Regions from separate parts of the Homo sapiens genome. Here region 2 is linked to region 1. Evidence: promoter capture Hi-C in 16 types of primary human blood cells and fetal thymus (Javierre and others, 2016). All regions are on one chromosome and are shown on one strand. Each heading gives the region's core, a stretch centred on a gene start or on the middle of the fragment in contact. The rest is flanking DNA. Distances are from core to core; before and after follow the strand shown. Region 1 holds the start of ZMAT1 (zinc finger matrin-type 1). Region 2 overlaps ARMCX2 (armadillo repeat containing X-linked 2).

The links. The method cuts DNA at HindIII sites, captures the fragments that hold promoters and counts their contacts. A CHiCAGO score of 5 or more calls a contact.
Region 2: a contact is called between a fragment that was not itself captured here and the fragment with the promoter of ZMAT1 in region 1, in 1 of 17 cell types (monocytes). The highest score is 5.1, in monocytes.

What each region holds. Positions count from the first base shown.
Region 1 is chrX:101,930,654-101,933,442 of GRCh38, reverse strand. It overlaps ZMAT1 (zinc finger matrin-type 1), which reads left to right and starts at 1,416. Exons shown (of 6, transcript NM_001394560.1): 1 at 1,416-1,726. The coding sequence starts at 1,435. RefSeq lists an enhancer at 1,137-1,637. The HindIII fragment of the contact is 3,682 bases long and covers 681-2,789 here.
Region 2 is chrX:101,652,489-101,655,397 of GRCh38, reverse strand. ARMCX2 (armadillo repeat containing X-linked 2) reads left to right here. Exons shown (of 6, transcript NM_177949.4): 6 at 1-117. Among named protein-coding and RNA genes, the nearest start is that of ARMCX2, 5.9 kb to the left of the region's middle. The HindIII fragment of the contact is 1,888 bases long and covers 310-2,197 here.

The DNA.
Region 1 (2,789 bases), core at 167-2,666:
AATAGATTGGAGGGATTGAGATCAGAGGAAAGAAGACCAGTGGGGTGGATGCCATACGTCTGACCATATATCATGAGGACTTGAAATACAGCAACGGATCTAAGACTGGAAAGGAGAGAATACTTAAGGGAGACTTGCACAAAGGCACCAGGAGGTGTGCCCATCAATAAGGAAAAGGGTGAGATATCCTACAGCATCGACAGTGCATAACTACAGCTACAAGCAACAACATAGATGAATCTTAGAATGTTACGTGAAAGAAACAAGTCCCAGGCCAAGCATGGTGGCTCCTTCCTGTAATCCCAGCTACTCCAGAGGCTGAGGTAAGAGTATTGCTTGAGGGAAAAAAAAGCAGAAACAAGTCCCAGAATGCTACCTAGAAAAAGATATAAATATTTGTGAAAATTGAAAACAATCAAAACTAAACAACACTATTTAGGCACATATCTATGTGATAAGAATATATGTTAAAATGCAAAGAAATAATAAATATAAATCAGGATATTGGTCTCTTTGAGAGGAGAGGTTGGGGGGACAAGATGAGATTTAAGTGATCAGTAATATTCTAGTACTTCTATTGGGTGCTGAATTCACAGGAAGTTATTGTAATTAAGATGGGCAGATCGATAGATAGGCAGTCCTTTAAGAGGCCACGGAAACAATGTGTCAGAATGAAAGCTTCTGTTCTATTCTCTGTACTAAGTGCTTTAAGAAAGCCAGGGGCCGGGCGTGGTGGCTCACGCCTGTAATCCCAGCACTTTGGGAGGCCGAGACAGGTGGATCATGAGGTCAGGAATTCAAGACTAGCCTGGCTAACATAGTGAAACCCCATCTCTACTAAAAATACAAAAATTAGCTGGGCATGGTGGCACATGCCTGTAATCCCAGCTACTCGGGACACTGAGGCAAAATTGCTTGAACCAGGACCCGGGAGGCAGAGGTAGCAGTGAGTGAGATCGCACCACTGCACTCCAGCCTGGGCTACAGGGCGAGACTCTCCCTCAAAAAAAAAAAAAAAAAAAAAAAAAAAGAAAGAGAAAAAAAAAGCCAGGTGAAGATATATTTCAGAGATATTTTGGAGGTGAGATCAATAGTTTCCAGACATTTTTTCCTCTTAAATTGGTTTTAGATTAGATCTCCAAAGAAGCCTCACTGTGCGAGGCCCACGTGCTTTCACATCCCGCGCTTTTTGCCCTTTGCCCTTGGCCGTCGTTGCTTCCCCTCCAAAGGGAGGTGGGGTGACGCAAGGCAGTGGGGGAGGGGGAAACGGCCGGCGGGCTTAAAGCTCTCCGATTGGTGGACTGAGGAGCGAGAACGAGGCTCGAGCTGAAGCGTTAAAAAGAGGAACAAAGGGGGTGGGGCTAACGGAAGGCGGGGCTAAAGGAGCTTAACGGAATCGAGACGCAAGTGCAATTGTCCGCGCGCCTCGCTGCGATGGCGGCGGCGCCGAGCACAGTCACCCCGCTGGCGGCGGAGTCTTCCCCTCAGGAAGCTACCGTCTCTGCCGCCTCCTCCTCCTCCTACACCGCCTGCGCGGCAGCGGCGGCGGCGGCGGCGGCGGCGGCAGTAATTGTTCCTGCCTCCTCCGCCACCTCCGCCCCTGCCTGCCCGCCTGCCGGTGGCTGTGGCGACGGCGGCGGCGGCGGCTTTGGCGGCTCCACTATGGCGGCGGCGGGGAGGGGGGGCAGTAGTTTTAAAGTAGACACCCGCCCTTGCCTCAGAGAAGGTGAGTTCCCGTCCCGGGGTGCGGGGGCGGCCCCATCTCCTTCGCTGCCTCTCTTCAGCCCGTCCGAGATTGGGCTGGGCGCGGTTCGCCACTGCCCCACCCCCACCTGCCGTGGCGCAGTAAAGGCCAAGCTCGCCCCGCCCCGCCCCGCCGTATTAGCCCCGAGTGTGCAAGATGGACTGAAGCAGAGAGGGCCTTCCCTACCTCTCCCACCTGTAAAGGATGGGGGCCCCCAGGCAAAAGAATTGCAGGTACTCATGAGGCAGGAGTTTGAAGGGAAAAAAAAATACCACATAATTTCTCTCCCAGCCAGGACACCTTAGTGTGCTGTAGGAAGCTGAGGTGTGATTTGGAAGAGAGAGGAGGCAAGATAGAAGTGCTGTGGGCCAAGAGGGTCAAGGATAAGGGAACGGGGACCGATGGAGAAAGGGGCGGAGATAAAAGAGGAAATACCGAAGAAATAAGGGGGAGTAAACCCCCTTTGGTGTTCAACGTCCTGCAGTGTAGAAACTAGAAGTAGAATATTTACAGAGAGATGGCGTTAGAAATTTGGGCAGGTTACAAGTGTATACTTGAGCTTTAAAGTAGGATCTGTCGGATTTTAGGAAGGTAAGGTCTGGTGGAGGGGACTCTACTAGGGAAAGAGAGGAAGAGAGTGTGGCAGAAGTACAGATTTCAGGAATCACTTTGGAGAGTTTTCTTTGGCTATTTGAGGATGTGACCTAGTAAAGCAAGATTTACAGGTCCATCTTTAAGGTGGTTTGGCTTTAATAAGTTCTGTTGTACCTACCAACACATATTACTCCTAACATAAAAAGATATTTCTTGACTGTATCAATATAAGCGGTATTCACACAAAGTTCTGTATACTTGTAAACAGCCTACTAATAGCAAACTGTAAAATTTGCCATTGAAATGTGTTTTAAAGCAGTTTGGGAAATGTTCTTAGCTGGTGGAGACCATTCCACTGCAGAGCATCCCAGTAAAGCATTTTGCCATGTAAATTTCGTAATTAATTTCCAGAATTTGCTGTGTTACCTTATGTTGCTAACTTGCCTCCAAA
Region 2 (2,909 bases), core at 4-2,503, 280 kb after region 1:
GTAAACCTGTCCATTATGAATGGCCTACTGTTCTATTATTTGTTTTGACTTGAATTTATCCACCAAAGACTTCATTTGTGTATCATCAATAAAGTTGTATGTTTCAACTGACAAAAAGTCGTTCTAATGCTTGAATTTAAAACCCAGATGGAGAGATAAGGTACATAAATACAAAAGTATATATACAAAGATCTATGAAAAATAATAATAATAAATAAATACAAAAGGATTACTAACAGTACCTGGGCATATGCTCTTTGTCAAATATACACTATCTGTTTAAATGAAGCAGAGGTTGCTGAGAAAGCTTCAAGGAGGAAGGGCGCATTTAAGCTGAACCCTGAAGGACAACATAGAAGGGCATTCCAGGAGGGGGAAATGCTTTGGAGAAAGGCATGCAAGTGAGAAATCTGTGCCTGTGATAGGAAGGTAGCCAATTTGCTTGGAATGGAAGCCATGGGAAGAGGAATGATGAGAGATAAATGTGAAAATTCAGAGTGAGGAAAGTTTGAGGAAGATCCTGAACCCCAAGCCAAAATATTGAAATAATATCTTGTCATATTATGCAAATTGCTGAACATTTTTGACTAAAGGAAAAATAATCTGGTGGCAATATTAAAGATGGATTGGAGCTATGTTGGAGACTGGACATTTGTTAGAAAGTTATAATAAGCCAAGCAAGAGATGATGAGGGGTGAAGTGGGGTGGTGACTAAGGGAACTGTTAGTGTATGATGATAATAAGAGACAAAACAAAACAAGAAGGACGAAGATCTGCTGCCTGACGCTTGTCTGTGGATCAACAAAGCTGGAGGATTGTATAACCTCATGCAGGTCCTGACAGGGAAGAGCCCTATTTGGGGGGCAACTGTGGAGACGGCACAATGACAAAGTGAGTCACCATTTGGGATGAGAAAAAAGCAGTGTGGCAGAAAGAATGACTCTTGGCACAGAGCAGTGGTTGGCTTCCTAGGGTTAGAGGTTTAGGTCTGCCATCTTTTAGAAGAGGGGCAGTGGTGAGGCCTTGATGGGAGTCCCCATCCCCACTCCCAAGTTCACTTATGAACAGGTATGCTTTCCTCCCTGGCCCACTGAAGCAATTAGAAAGTGGGAGGGTCCGAGAGATTTTTCCAAACCCAGCCTGCTTTCCTGACACCCTTTATGGTTAACAACAGTATATTGTATACTTAAAATTTTCAGAAAGAGTAGATGTTAAGTGTTCTAACCACAAAAGATAACTATATGGGGGCAAATGCATATGTTAATTAGCTTGTTTTAGCCATTCCACAATGTATACATATATCAAAATATCATGTTTACCCCTAAATATATACAATTCTTATTCGTCTATTAAAAATACATTTTTTAAAAACTGATATACTTCTATATTGGCATGAAAAGACATTAACTACGTGTAAGGGCCTGTCGCATCAGTCAAAAAGTCCACACAATTAAAACTGGGTGAAAATTCCTTCATATGTTTATTATATACATCCCTGCGTATTTTTTTCATAAAATTGGAATCATATTGTATGATAATGGTTCTCAATGTGTAGTCCATGGACTACTGCAGGTCCCTGAAACAGTAAGGTCAAAACTATTTTCAAAACAATAGTAACATGTTATTTGCTGTTTTCACCGAGTTGACATTTGCACTGATGGTGCAAAAGCATTGGTGGGTAAAACTGCTGGTGCCTTAGCATGGATTAAGGCAGTGTCCCCATACTATACTAGTAGTGATTGCATTCTTTAGAACCACACGCTCTAATTTTTTTAAATCCAAATTTATTTAAAAATGTATTTAATATAGTCCTTATTTATAAAAATTATATATGATAAAATCTCAATGATTGAGTGCAAGTCTTTTTAATATTCCGTGTGATGAAATAGGAAGTACGCACAAAGCATTTCTGCCACATAGCTTAGGACAATGGTTGTCTCTAAGGTAAATATTTGCATAATCATTTTAGTTGTGCACTGAATTAGCTGCTTTTTTCATGGAACATTAGTTTTACTTGAAGAATGACTGGCAGACAAACTATGGTTTTTCAGACTTCGGTATTTAGCAGAGATTTTCTTGAAAATGAATGAAGTGAGACTTCAAGAAAAACAACTGACAGGATTTGTCACCAGCAATAAAATTTGAACTTTTATGCAAAATTAGAAATTTGTAAAACTTGTATCCACAAATTCAAGCTTGACAGCTTCTCTTGAAGATTTTTCTGAAGAGATCACTGGTGATAATAATGGAGGTGATGGCCTTTTTTCTTTTTCTCCTAGGAGAAAATTGATAGAAGACCCTAGGGCCTAATGTTCTTACTCAGTTTTACTGTAATCATTGTAACCCATATGACATCGAATCTATGGCTATTTAATAAATAATACAATTGCTGTGGTAACAACATGACCCTGAGTGAGGTTAGACCCAAGAATTTTTGAACCATTACTAAGGATAACCTGAAAATATGTCAGTCCTGGAAAAGTATTTCTGGGGTAAGATAGAGGTAGTATTTGAGTTCGTATATGGAAGATGGATGCATCAGAACCTCCTGGCTTGATCCTCACTATTCAGGTAGTCTAACCAGCTTTATCTGCTCTGATTAACAGTGGAAACTTCCATAATCTTCAGGTGAAACCTATTCCCATACAGAGATGTGTGGTCTGGCCTAACGAATAAGCTACAAATCACACAATAGGGAAATGCTTTATTTCCTAAGGTCTGAATTTTTGTGCCTTAAATCATATCACATGTGAAAGTACGAGCGTAGTTCAGGTGTGGCTAAATCCTAAAAGAGTAGCTCTTTGAAAGATTTAACTTCGTAAAATAATAACAATAGGTACCAGGAATTGAGCATCAGCTATATAGTATTCTATTATTCCTGAAATGTGACTGTTGAAACATTCCTTAGG